Regions from separate parts of the Homo sapiens genome. Here regions 2 and 3 are each linked to region 1. Evidence: promoter capture Hi-C in 16 types of primary human blood cells and fetal thymus (Javierre and others, 2016). All regions are on one chromosome and are shown on one strand. Each heading gives the region's core, a stretch centred on a gene start or on the middle of the fragment in contact. The rest is flanking DNA. Distances are from core to core; before and after follow the strand shown. Region 1 holds the start of CASK-AS1 (CASK antisense RNA 1). Region 2 overlaps CASK (calcium/calmodulin dependent serine protein kinase). Region 3 overlaps CASK (calcium/calmodulin dependent serine protein kinase).

Region 1 (4,770 bases), core at 1,052-3,551:
TTGGCAAAACTTTATGCAAAACCACCCCAGAACTGAGTTTGAATGGCGACGTGCCTACACTGCAATTAAACACGATACTCGGGTCTTAGCACGTGAGGATTGGGCGGCCTTCACATCAGTCACGCTGCCTGCTGCACCCGGCAGCCGCCTACCTGCCTGCACAGATGACATTCCGGGAAACAGCTAAGACTGGAAATCAATTCCCCCAATTCTTGGTCTCTTCCAAATAAAAAAAAAATAGGGGGAGCCACTCACTGTGGAGGAATGCCTGTTTCTGTTCCCAAGGACAATTCTCGCTACAGAGGTTGTACTTCCTCTGGGTCCAGAGAGGGTCACCCCTAAGCCTCTGTCAGTAAGAACACTGGCGTGTTCTCTCAGTCACACACCAGAGAGAATGGAGCTAACACATAAGTAGCAGCTAAATTCTGAGTTTCTGAGCATACGCAGAGATGGAGTTGTGCTTGGGGCCAGAAAGGAGGTCTCCTGTGTGGTGACAAACATCTCTTTCCATTTTCTTTTGCTCAGTCCATTTGCACAGGTTCGAGGGAGTTGATGGAGGGTCAGACGAGAGGTGGTGGGAGCTCAGGATTTTCTATTCCCACAAAGAGCTAAGACTTAGGAGTGCTGGCCCCAGAGATGGTGCGGCCCTCTTTCTACTTCTGTTTCTGTGGGCTCTGTCTGCCCACCTGCTGCACAAAGCAAGGCAGGGGAAAGACCGGATGGGAACATGGTGGTGAATATCCTCTTTTTTTCCCTTTTCCCCCACTTCCTGGATGTAGGTGACAGCTAAACTTCACCCACTAAGCTGGAAAATCTGGGACTCCCCATAGCTCCAAGTTTAAGGCAAACTGATGTGTGTGTGCACAGGCAAAGCCAATCAAGCCATGAGCTTGGAGGAGAGTCCTGTATCCAGAGATTCCAAACAGAGAGGGAAATCTTATTTCTAAAGGAGTTAGAAAAGGAAAGGCTCTGGCAAATGAAATGATCTGTGATTAAAGCTTGTAGCCTTTCTGTAAGCTGCAGTGAGAAGGAAAGCATCTTTTAATAGAAGAATTAATTAGAGGCGCAGAACAAGAAAGCCACGCTCAGGGACCTTTAACTTATTACAGCCTGTAATCGCTCTCAGTATTGTAAGCCCTAGTCAAGAGGATGGAATTAGGAGGCTGTGTTCAGTTCTGAGAAAACAAGAAACACACACGAGTTTGATAATAGGAAGCAAGAAGGAGGAGGGATGAGGATGACAAGGAGCTTGGTTTTGGAATGCCGATTCCAAGGTGCCTTCTCTTTTCAAAGAGACAGTGTGGGAGGCATTTCTATTAAGAATTTGTTAATCAAGCAGTTTTCTTGGTAGCTTTAGCAACACATTCTCTTTGCCCCAAGTTAAGAAACTGGCCTGAAATGAAAAAAAAAAAGGACATGACATCAGTGGGGGACAAAAGAGAGCTGGCTTTGGGCTGCCTTGTTTTTCAGGGGCAGTTTCCACGCTGGGAATCTTCCTGGAGGGTGGTTCAATTGACTAAACTTTTTCAAGAAATAAACTTGAAGCCTTAATGAAGAGACAAATACAAGTGATTTAAAAACAAAAGAACTCTGCAGCGATCAGATCAAAGGCTGTAAAAAGGTAACAGTAGCTGCAGCCCAGGCCTGCCTGGAGCACAGGGGAAGGCTTGGCCCACTGGCTGTCTCTAGCAGCCTAAGAAGGAATTGGACGGGGAACAGGAACACCTCCTGCATTTCTACTGCAGTGGGGGACTTTGCGACATCTTTAGATATTCTGCCACCAATAGGATGGGCTGGGACGATGCCTTCTGAATGCAAATAGCAAGAAGTAGGTCAACCATTTGTTTTCCTCTCTGAGCAAAGATTTTAAATCATCTCACCTGACAAGAGATACATTTAATTGCATTTAAAAAGGCTACAATGTTATCTTGACACTGGGAAACTTCCAGATGAATTAAATTGAGTGACATTTCCCTTTTTAGCATTAAAATGGGATATGCTGTATGTGCAAAGTAATTACTGTCTTGTGACTGGAAAATCAGGACATTTCATCTTTTTAACAAAGAATTCAACATATAAAAACACTCCCTTTCTTGCTGTGGGGAATGGAGTTGGGTGGGGGAGAGAACCTTCAAAATGTGGCTCTCCAATACTTCAATTGACCACTAATAAGATTTAGTACTCTAAACATTCATTCTGGTCTTTAAAAGAAAGAAAGAAAAAAAAAGGTTCTGCTGATGGAATGGAAGCAGTAAAGAAGCTTTTAGCAATTTTCTCTGATTGCTTAGTGGACAATTGTAATGTAGCAGTAGCAGCAGCAGCAGCAGCAGCAGCAGCAGCAGCAGCAGCAGCAGCAGCAGCAATGTACTGAAATTACTCTGAATTCAGAAATGTAAGTATATGCAGCTAGGTCATAAAGACACTGCTTTAGAGAAGACATGTATTAGTGGAATGGAACAGGTAACATCTTTGAGAAGTCAATGAGTTCTGCATGCAGGGATTTCACCATCGGAATGATGGCAAGAATGATGCCTGCCTGTGTGCTTCTCAGAGGACGTATAAAGCCACTGAGGATGAGTGCTACAGTGCTTGTGAATTGTGGGGCCACAGACATTTAAGTTGGCATTGCTTTTCTCCTCCTCTGCTTAATCCACCTTTATAAATATGGCAGATGGCTTAAGACAGGCATCATCAGCATCTCTGGAGATGTGGGCTCAAAGGGCAAGTGGGGGCGTGGGGGTTTCCACTAGAGGGAGGGAAGTTTCTGTTTCCCATGTGTTAGTTGTAGTTGTCTTTGTGCTTCACCAGAAAAGAGGTAGAGTGCGCACCTTCACACTAAGAGCCCGAAATTGTGGTCAGTACCATACCAGGAACGACTGTCTGGCCTTGGCATCTATCAGATTCGAATCAGTTCTAACACAGCCCTACCCAACTCTTTGAAGGTTTCTCTCTCTATCTAGTGTGAGACCACTGTTGAGCTTATCTCTGGTTTGGTGGCTTGGTCACCCCACTGTGGGGCCCATACAGAAGTAGTTCACTCAATACCTTGTTAGTAAGTTGCAGACTCATCTGGTCACTGGCAAAGAACAACATCAGAAAAAAAAAAATCGCCACCATTTAATAATAGGCGGTGGGGGGCGGAGGCGGGTATGGTGTTGACAATGTAAAAGAAGTATACTAATGCCTTCTCTGTTTGGTCCTTTAAGAGGAGCTGTTCAGCTCAGAACACACCCTGCACATCCTGCCAAGGCACAAAGTGACAAGGCCATCTAACCTACAAGAAGCAAAAAATGATGGTATGTTTTCAAGGATCACAGGTTAATATAAGCACTTCACACCCTCACATGCTAATGAAAAACATTCTACTGACCTCTGGCAAAGAGTCTGAGAACCCCAGCCCGAATCTCCTGTATTGGAAGAATGTGACTTCATGGAAGAGTTATGAGATGGTTAATGTCTCTAAAGCAACAAGGACAGATGATTCCCCTGTGCCAAGGGATACAGCAAGAGGAAGGAGAGACCACAGGTGGCCTCCAGTACACCCGTGGCCCTTGGGCGCATGGCTCTGTGCGAGTCAGACGTGGTCCAGCTGTGCTCTGGCAGGCTACTTTGTCACCCTGCCAACTGATACTCACTCCTGGGCCTTCAAAGGTTCAATGAGCATCTAACAAATTATACAATTGTAAAGATTATCAGCTTGGAAGCCTGAACAAATCTATAATGAAATGAAGGACCCAAAGGCATTTAATTATTGAACACATAAAAGGAAGTATATTTAAAAAAAATTGGTCAAACTGTCCTGTTAGTTATCATTTTAAAGGAATTTACAGGGCTGTTATAGATGATTCTTTTGGAATATTTCAGTTTATAGCAAATGCCTAAACTGGTTTCTTCATTGCACAGTATTTTCTCTTAAAATGGGTGCTTTAAAACAATTACATACAGATTAAAAATCATTTCTTTGCTTAATTAAAACGTTAATACTCTTAGACAACACAGATCTGAAATGGTGAAACCAGCAATTCCCCCCACCCCACCTTACAACAAATTAAATTGAGACAAAATTACAAACACATTTCACTACATGATTATTATTAATAAAAATCAGTTTCTTTTTTTTTATAAAGTTGCCCAAAATGCAAGGGATGTGCATAGGTTTACAACTTAGTCATAATAGCATTTTATTCTTATTCCCCTGGGTGTGCCCCATGAACGGAATGTAGAATGTACTTTGCTGTAGATTACAGATTGTTTTGTCCAACACAGACACACCGACAGCATAAACGCTCGCGACTGTCCACATGCATTAAGAGTCAAGACCCAACTTCAAATCTCTAAAAGGTTTACAGGGTGCTTCAAAGAGACAGTATCACATTATCTGGATGTTACATAAAGGACTTAAAAAAAAATACTATTCTAAAAAAAAAAAAAGAGAGAAAAAAGGCCTTTAAAAATTTATGACTGTTTTGTAATCACTACACTAATTATTTCAAATAAATAAAGGAAAGAAAGATATCCCAATATTCCAATCCATAAAATCAGACTCTAAAAAGAATGTAGTGTTCCACCCCCAGTCAAGGTAACAGAATCATTGTTTATTATTATTAAAATAGATTATAGAAAGCAGCATCTATTTTGTGCAGTTTTTAGGGGCCTTGGAAATAAAAAGCTATGATTTCCAAAAATATAACATTCCAAAGGATTGAATAATACATACATTTAAAGATACATTTTATTAAAGTTTAGGAGAACTGATTAAAAAAGATACTG
Region 2 (4,770 bases), core at 817-3,316, 250 kb after region 1:
TAAATAAAAAAACAAACTGAAACAAACAAACAAACTTAAATCTATCTATATCAAGCTTGTGGCAAAACCACAATGAGAAGAGTTATTTAAAATTTCTTTAAAACCCAGGGTTTTGATTGTGCATTCCTGTGGGATATACCCTTCGGATGAAAAGAAGTGCAAAGAAATCCTAATCTGCATTCAATAGTCTTATTTTTATTGCATATTTAAACTAGTAGGATGAAGCAAATAAGTATATTAATGTGGCAAGGAACCCAGATTTTCAGAGATAAGATATACAAATATAAAACTTAAAAAGTTAAAAACTATGTAATTTCTTTCTCACTTAAAAAAACTTTATATTATGGAAAATTTCAAAAGTAGAAAATACAGAGTTTCATACATTCATTACACTGCTCTAACAATTAACAACACATTGGCCAATCTTGTTTCACCTGTATTCCAACATAGTACCCACTGCCTACCCACTGCTTGATTTTGAGGCAAATCCCGGACATCAATAAAACATTATGCATAAATGGCTAGGCGCACTGGCTCACGCCTGTAATCCTAGCACTTTGGGAGGCAGAGGCAGGTGGATCACTTGAGCTCAGGAGTTTGAGACCAGCCTGGCCAAAATGGTGAAACGCTGTCTCTATAAAAAATACAGAAATTAGCCGGGCATGGTGACGCGCACCTGTAGTCCCAGCTACCTGGGGGGCTGAGGCAGGAGGATGGCTTGAACCTGGGAGGTGGAGGTTGCAGTGAGCCGAGATTGGGCTACTGCATTCCAGCTGGGGCAACAGAGTGAGACCCTGTTTCAAAAAAACAAAAACAAGAGCATTATGCATAAATATTTCAGTACTTATCTCCAAAAGGTAAGAACTCTTTTTTGTTATATAACTATAATACCAAAATTACTTATAATAATTCCTTATAATTTAATAACTGTCTTGTAAATAAAAATCTGTAATTGCTACTTTAAACTGGAAATGGTGTAAACTCATGGTTTCTTTTTTGTTTGTTTAGAGTAAAGAAAACTTTTTATTTTAGAATAATTTTAGATTGACGTAAAAGTTGCAAAGATAGTACAGTTGATCCTTTAACAACACAGTTCTGAACTGTATGGGTCCACTTATATGCAGAATGTTTTCAACCAAATGCAGATAAAAAATACAGTATTTGCTAAATGCGAAACCTGCCTATATGGAAGGCTAACTTCCTATATATGGGTTCCACAGGGCTGACTGCAGAGCTTGAGATGCGTGGATTTTAGTACACGTGAGGTTCCAGGAACCAATCCCCTGCATATATACTGAGGAATGATTGTACAGAGAGTTCCTGTATACCACTAAATGAACTTCTTCTAGTGTTATCATCTTAGGTAACTATAGTACACTTGTAAAAGCTAAGAGTAACTCTGGTACATTACTATTAACTAAACTCCAGACTTTACCTGGACTTCATCAGTTTGTCAACTATATACTTTTTCCCTTGCCATTTAGGATTCCACGTTGCATTTAGTCGTCAAGATTCCTTAGTCTCCTCTGGTTGGTGACAGTTTCTTAGTCTTTACTTGTTTTTCATGACCTTGATAGTTTTAAAGCATGCTGGCCAAGTATTTTATAGAATGTTCCTCAATTTGGGTTTGTCTGATGTCTCCCTCTTGCCTAGGTCAGGGTTATGGGTTTCTTGGGAAGAATATCAGAGGTGAAATGCCCTTCTCATCACATCATATCAAGGAGCGGATGATATACGCAGGAATGATCACTGGTAATGCTAATGTGATCACTTGGTGAAGATAATCTGTTAGTTCTCTCTACTGTAAAATTACTATTTCCCTCTCCATACTTTGTTCTTTGAAAGTGAGTTACTAAGTCCAACCTACACTCAAGGGTGGAGGGAAATTATCTATACCTAACACTTGGAATTCTTCTTTTTTTCTCTCTCAATTGTTTATCTAATTATTTCTTTATATCACTATGCACTCATAAGTATTTATTTTATACTTTGGATTGTAATCTATACTGTGTTATTTTTTGCTCAAATTGTTCCAGTTTTGGCCACTGGACATGCTTTCAGGTTGGTTCCTATGTCTCTCTGATATGCCCCCATCTTTTTGAATACTTCCTTACCTTCAGGCACTCTAAGATGCTTCATGTTTATCTTATATTTTCTCTTTTCCAGCCCTAGAATTTATAATCATTTTTCCGAGGATCCCTGGCTGCTTAAATTAGAGGAGGACATTCAGAAACAAAAATCTAGGTGTGGGTATGCTTTAGGCTCTCTAAGTGGACAGAGCTAGGAATGTATGTGTACTAACTCATGTATGCACATATAATTTATGATTTCTGTATATATCTGTACATGTATATGTGTATGTGTGCGTGTGTGTACATATAATAAATTCAATATGAGATTATACTGCTGTCTTCAACTCTAATCTAGTAGCTAAGAGTTCATTCTAGCCTTCCCTATTGCTTATCTGTAATTTTCTGACAGAATTTTAATGTTCTGCATGTTAAAAAAAAATCAACAAGCAAAATAAAACAGGCAGATTTGGGGAAAATATTTACAAATACATGAAAAAGGTAAATATCTTTAGCAAATAAAGAATTCTTCGCCAGGTGTGGTGGCTCATGCCTGTAATCCCTGCACTTTGGGAGGCCAAGGTGGGAGGACTGCTTGAGCCCAGGAGTTCAGAACCAGCCTAGGCAAGCAAGGGAGAGCCCATCTCTATTAAAAACAAAAAACAAAAACAAACAAACAAAAAAGAATTCTTACAACTAAAACAACTAAGGAAAACTAAACAACTAATGAAAGTGACTAGATGCAAAAGAAATGGGTAAATTTACTTTTAAAATATTTGACCACACTAATGACAAAATAAATGCAAATTAAACCAAAACATCCTTTTGACCTATCAAAATGTAAACATAGATACATTTATTTACCATGTGTGAATATAAATTGGTAAATCTTTATGGAGAGTAATATGAAAACTACGTTAAAAGAGTTTTAAATACATTGCTAGAGTTCTGCTTCTTGTAATGGTAGACTAGATGATGTCTCCCATTGAAGACAACTAAATAAGTAAAAAAAAAAAGTACTTTTTTCTTTTCTTTTTCTTTTTCTTTTTTTTTTTTTTTGAGACAGAGTCTCACTCTGTCGCCTAGGCTGGAGTACAGTAGTATGATCTTGGCTCATTGTAGCCTCCATCTCCTGTGCCCAAGTGATCCTCCCGCCTCAGTCTCCTGAGTAGCTGGGACTATAGGTGCATACCCCCATGCTTGGCTAATTTTTAAACTTTTTTAGAGATGAGGTCTCACTATATTTCCCAGGCTGGTCTCTAATTCCTGGGCTCAAAAGGGAAAATGAGTGAGAATTCAAGAGAATCTGATAAACTCTACTCTCCAGCACTGAGCTGATGCCCTAAAGAGCTAGGGGTGAACTGGAAGCAATCAGCCCCTTCACAGACTTGCAACCCGGCTTTACATCTAGGTGGCACTGAAAATCTAAGCCTTAAATCTTGAGTAAGAAAGTCTTAAACAGCTAGGTGCCTGAAGGTTCGCAGTAGAAGCAGCAAATAAAAATCCTCTTTGGGCCAGGCACAGTGGCTCATGCCTGTAATCTCAGCACTCTGAGGAGGCAGGATGATTCCTTGAGCCCAGGAGTTCAAGACCAGCCTGGGAAACACAGTGAGACTATGTCTGTACTAAAAATAAAAAAAATTAAGTGGCTGTGGTGGTGTGTGCCTGTCATCCCAGCTACTCAGGAGGCTGAGGCAGGAAGATCACTTGAGCCCAGGAGGTAGAAGCTGCAGTGAGCTGTGATTGAGCCACAGCATTTCAGTCTGGGCAACAGAGTAAGACCCTGTCTCAACAACAACAACAACAACAACAAAATTCCTCTTTGGAGAAAGAAAGCATCATCTTAGGCCAATAATTTTCAACATAATTTCTAGCACAAGACAAAAATGAATAAGGTACATGAAGGGATAAGAGATCTCGACCAATAACCAGCAAAAATAACAGACAATAAAAGCAAACCCACAGGGACTTCATATACTGAGATTATCCAGCACAGATTATCAAACAATGAAGCTTACTATGCCCTAGAACATAAAAGCTGAGCTTGTTTTTTTTTTTTGCAAGAGAATAAAAGCCAAAAATAATACAATCTATCTATCTATCATCTATCTATCTATCTATCTATCTATCTATCTATCTATCTACCTACCTACCTACCTATCCATCCATCCATCCATCCATCCATCCATCCATCCATCCATCCATCCGTTTTTTGAGACAGAGTTTTGCTCTTGTTACCCAGGCTGGCTGGCTGGCTATCTATCTATTTTTTGAGATGGAGTTTTGCTCTTGTTGCCCAGGCTGATTGGCTCACTCCACCTCCCGGGTTCAAGCGATTCTCCTGCCCTCAGCCTCCCAAGTAGCTGGGATTACAGGTGCTCGCCACCACGTCCAGCTAATTTTTTTGTATTTTTAGTAGAGACGAGATTTCACCATGTTGGCCAGGCTGGTCTTGAACTCCTGACCTCAGGTGATCTGCCTGCCTCAGCCTCCCAAAGTGCTGGGATTACAGGTGTGAGCCACCATGCCCGGCCAAAAAATAATACAGTAGATTTTAAAAAGGAAATAGAAACATAAAACTGAAAAATATAATTAACATTTAAAAATTAGTGAATAGATTAACATCAGATTAAACAGTACTGAAGAGAAAGAGACCAGTAAGAGAGGACAGAAGAAACAAAAAGACCAAAGCATGGAGAAA
Region 3 (4,770 bases), core at 649-3,148, 220 kb after region 1:
TTCAGTAAAAATAAATAAATTGAAATTATAGTGTTCCTAGTAAGAATTAGTACAATGACTTCCCAAATACAAAGCAGTTAAATACATTTTTACTTAGAAGTAAAATTAAGATGTTCTTTATGACAATATTAAAGAAGAATTCTTGATTATCATTGTTATATCAGTATTTCTTCACAAACATTAAAGTTAGTGATAACAAATGACTTACCTTCACATCCCTGTGAATTATGTTATTATCATGGCAGTAGCGTAGAGCTTCCAGTATCTGTCTCATATAATGGCTGTAAAAAACAAAAGAAATCTAAAAACTGTAAACAATTTTTATTTTAAAACTTAATATACAGTGCTCCTAGTTTATAACTCCCACTCTCATATTAGCTGTCCATGGACACATTTGATTTGAGCAGACAGGATTGGTGTAAAGTGAGGCTTAATAATGAAAATGTTGGCAGACTCAAAAGTTTATGGGCTTCATGAAGAAATAGTATGCTCTATATTTTCTAAGCTATCTAAGTCAAAAGAATTACACATAGTTCATAAGTAAATTTGCTTTGCAAACTAAAAATTCAAGCTTAAAACATGACAATTTTTTTCCCCAATACTCAGGTAATTCTACTTAAACTGGACTGCGTTATGTAAACAGTGCTCAGGGCTGCCCCAAGGATTCAGACTCAAGCAGTGGGAGCCTTTGATCTGCCAGCAAATAATAAGATGCTCTTCATCTTACTTCTATTTAGCTGTGAGGACAAATGAGGGAAGAGCCACCCTTATCGGACAATTTCTTTTTGTAACATAATCAAGTTTTAGTTGGGGCTCCCTTGAACAAAGTGGAGTTAATTCTAGGCACATGTCCTAGAAAGCCTGACTCCTTACATGGCCAGCTGAGGAGCCCTCATGGAGCACAGGTGAAGAACAAAGAAGAAATCAGCATTTTAAAGAACAGGAATTAAAAAATGGTAATGGGGTTAACTAGCAACCATGTGTGACAAGAGCAGTTGATTCAGTACCACTTTAGAACCTCCTTCTCCTATTTCTAAAGTTCTTCTATAATTGCCCTATTACTCTTTCTCTGAGTATCTGTTTCATTTTCTGTATTTTATTCCCTCCATATTTGTCTCTTTTCTTCCTATTCCCCTTCTTTTCTCATTTTTTCCCTTTTCCTTCCCAACCAGCATGACAGAAATGCAATAGACTTAACACTGTTCACTGTATAATATTTATAGAATTTTGTTTTGTTTCCAGATCTTATATTTCTGATACAAGTGACCTTGAACATGTGTATGTGACTCAGGACTAAAAAAAAAAAAAAAATCCCTATCCTGGCTTTACAATTAAAAGACATTTCCATCAAGTTCCCTCTTTGGCATGATACCATTTAATCAAGCTCACAGGAATATTTCTCTAGTTAGCATATGCATTATTTCATGTATTACAATTAATTGGAAAGGTTCCATTTTAAAAATGAAAGGTAGGAGAAAAAACAAAAACAAAAACAAACCCAAGCCTTGTTCCTGTACTAATCACAAGCCTTGTTCCTGTACTAATCACAGGCTCCTTACAACGGGGCTTTAAGCCAGAGAGCTAGGCTCATGTAATCATTAGCTCTGATGTTTTAATTTATCTTACTTTGCAAATGCACATATAAGGGGTTGTGCTCATATACTCTTTGCTTGGGCCATTGTAGCCTGTAATTAAGTTTTGTTTATTTTTTATTTTTATTTTTTGAGATGGAGTTTCCCTCTTGTCTCCCAGGCTGGAGTGCAATGGTGGGATCTCGGCTCACTGCAACCTCTGCCTCCTGGGTTCAAGCGATTTTCCCGCCTCAGCCTCCCAAGTAGCTGGGATTACAGATATGCGCCACCACGCCTGGCTAGTTTTTGTATTTTGAGTAGAGACAGGGTTTCACCATGTTGGCCAGGATGGTCTCAAACTCCTGACCTCAAGTGATCAGCCTGCCTCAGCCTCCCAAAGTGCTGGGATTACAGGCATGAGCCACCACGCCTGGCCATAAGTTTTGTTCAAATGAGGGGTTAACTTGGTGTTGTGGCCCATTACTGGTTCAAATCAGGCTTTGGAAGATCTGTAACCCCTTGAAATGGCTAAGAGACTACACCTGTCAAAGTGCTTTGTAAACTCTAAACCATGCTACAAAGGTTAAGACATTATTAGTACAATATTATTATTGTTAAGTTCAATCAAAGATTTAGGAACAGCTTATTTGTCCATCTAGATGTCAACATGGAAATACTGGGTAAATTTAAATTAGTTAAAGTGGACATAGCTTGTACCCACAGAATGAACTATTTTGGATACAAAGCACTGAGACAGCCACCTAAATTATCTTTAACCTAAAGAAAATTCCTATCTCAAAGTCTCATAACACAAAACCAAACTCAATGAATGAGGCTTTTTTCATTTGCATATGAGAACACTCAATTACTTGACCCAAACGTATGTACACAGCAGAATCTTTGCGGCGTGTGTGGAGACAGTGGAACTGTTTTTCTTCCCAAGTTATAACAGAACTGAACTATCTTTCTCCACCCTCCCAGTCATGATCCTGCGAGGCAATGCATGTCAAAGTGTGCAAGCAGAATAAAACAAGAACTAAAATCTGCCCACATGTTCTAGGAAGTTGCTGACTAAACTTTTAATCAAAAAACTTCACTTCATGAAGCATCATAGAGACCTGTGCTTTCAGAGAAACTCAGCAATATATTTGTTTATCTTTATCTTTCCTAAGGATCAGCAAGATAATAACTCCATGGAAGGAAAAAGCTGGCCAGCAATGCATTTACTGCCTTTGGAAGGAGGCATTTCAGGGGTGCAGCATGGTAGAAGAGAGGTGATTCAGTCTGCTATTCTTGTCAATGCAGGTGAAAAGCCTAATGCTATTTGCTAGGCAGAAGAGACCTTATCTCTGAAATGCCCTTAATAGGATATCTCTGGCTAAGGATTACTATGGTAAGTAGAACACGGGATCTCTGAGGCACAGATGGCTTCCTGGAGAATGTCAATGGAGCTATCCAAATCTCTGGGGTGTAAAATGAAGATATTTGCAATGCTCCCCTTTGTGTGTGGAAACCCACAAACCCCAGTATAAACCTCATCTATTCTGGGCCAGAGGTGCATTTCTGAGGCAGTAAGAAGTGACGTGGGGGGCTGCCCTTCCCTTCTCTGCTTCACTTGAGCCTTCTGACTGCCTGTATCCTTGAGATTATTTAGTAAAGCTTGGTACTAGTTAAGAAGATCTCTGAGAGTTTGATTTGATAATCTGATCTTGTGTGTTAGCTCACTCCACAACTCATCACCCCTGAAAGGATGGAGGTAATAACTAATTGGGTTGCACTAAGGACTGAACACAGTTTTATTTTATGCCATGCTTTGCTGCTCCTCTTGAAGCTCAGCCAGTTGGAGAAAAACAACATTATCAATTTGATTACTTGGTGTCTCAGAGTCTTCTTGCAGTCGGTCTCACTAGAATACTGATACAAGCTGAATTTCCTAACAATAAATCACAGAATCAGAGAGGACGAAGAAAGATTAGAAGTCATCTGTCATTAAACCAATGGAAGAATCTACGCGCCCTTGTTGCATGGTCATTGATCCTCTGCAATAGCAAACACACATAATAATACTTTCTGAGTCCCCGCCTACTTTTTTTTATTGTTCAGAGGAAGAACCTTTAATAAACTGCCTCCAAACCTCTCTCTTTGCAATGTCATCTACTGGTCCCAATGCTACTCTTTTCTGGTCCACTCTGGAAAGTTCCTTTCACCATTTTAACAGCTTATACAGGTGGCTTTAAAAATCAATAGGCTTTCATTTTGATGTGTATAAACATCTACCTTTTCTATAAATCTCAAGATTAGGAGAGACCACAAGTCATGTCATTGTATGACATCATCTCTTCACACTACCATCCTGCTTATCCTGACATGTAGCCCAGTGGCAGAGATAGGCTTGAAGTTAAGGAAAAGCAATAAAGATGACTGGGGACCAGAGTAAAAGTGGTACTGGTTTCACATCAATCCTGTCAGCATACCTGCCAGGTATCCCCGTGTTATTGTGGTTCAAGAAGGGAAAAATCCCCTTCTTCCATTGAGTTTCACTAGTATTGACTATTTTTGGTATGAAAGAATGCTTTAAAATTTTGAGGGACAAGAAAGAATAAAAATTTAAAATTGTAATAAAAACTCAAAATAATAGAAGATGGGATTTAAAAAAACCCTGGAATGTGCTTTAGAGAACATTGCACAAAAGAAAAGAGAATATTTAGCTTTAGTTCTACCGCGTATAGATCAGAAGCCTAAAGAACACACATAAACTTTCATTTGCTCCTTCGCCCTAGCCCCAGCAGTACAAAAACACAGCGACCACACATTGAGCATATTCTTTATTTTGTGCCATAGCCATGGCTGCTCCATCCCTGAGACTAGGTCCCTTGCTCTTCAGCCAGAAGGAGTCAGGGCAATGAATTTGAAGACATTCAAGTCATGCTGAGCTCAAAGCTGTATTAAGGTGGTCTCCAAGTTGTTTCCAGCTATGTTTGTCTAAGATGCTATAATTGTAAAAGAAATGGTAAGACAGAGGAAATCATTTAATATAACTGTTTTTCAAATGATAAAAAGTTTTCATAAATCCTAGGCTAGGAACAGTAGGTAGTTCATGCCTACAATCCAAGCACTTTGGGAGGTTGAGGCGTGCGGATCACTTGAGGTCAGGAGTTCAAGATCAGCCTGGCCAACATGGTGAAACCCCATCTCTATT

The links. Contacts are between HindIII fragments. The CHiCAGO score rates a contact against its expected background, and 5 or more counts as called.
Region 2: a contact is called between a fragment that was not itself captured here and the fragment with the promoter of CASK-AS1 in region 1, in 2 of 17 cell types (M2 macrophages and M0 macrophages). The highest score is 7.0, in M2 macrophages.
Region 3: a fragment that was not itself captured here is called in contact with the fragment with the promoter of CASK-AS1 in region 1 in 1 of 17 cell types (M2 macrophages); the score reaches 5.2 in M2 macrophages.

The regions. Positions count from the first base shown.
Region 1 is chrX:41,515,461-41,520,230 of GRCh38, forward strand. CASK-AS1 (CASK antisense RNA 1) reads left to right here and starts at 2,302. Exons shown (of 2, transcript NR_046581.1): 1 at 2,302-4,770. CASK (calcium/calmodulin dependent serine protein kinase) reads right to left here. Exons shown (of 27, transcript NM_001367721.1): 27 at 1-4,770. RefSeq lists an enhancer at 1,357-1,858. The HindIII fragment of the contact is 5,609 bases long and covers 2,259-4,770 here.
Region 2 is chrX:41,766,086-41,770,855 of GRCh38, forward strand. The region is part of intron 3 of CASK (calcium/calmodulin dependent serine protein kinase); the gene reads right to left. Among named protein-coding and RNA genes, the nearest start is that of GPR82, 44 kb to the left of the region's middle. The HindIII fragment of the contact is 4,027 bases long and covers 54-4,080 here.
Region 3 is chrX:41,739,176-41,743,945 of GRCh38, forward strand. CASK (calcium/calmodulin dependent serine protein kinase) reads right to left here. Exons shown (of 27, transcript NM_001367721.1): 5 at 209-281. Among named protein-coding and RNA genes, the nearest start is that of GPR82, 17 kb to the left of the region's middle. The HindIII fragment of the contact is 2,659 bases long and covers 570-3,228 here.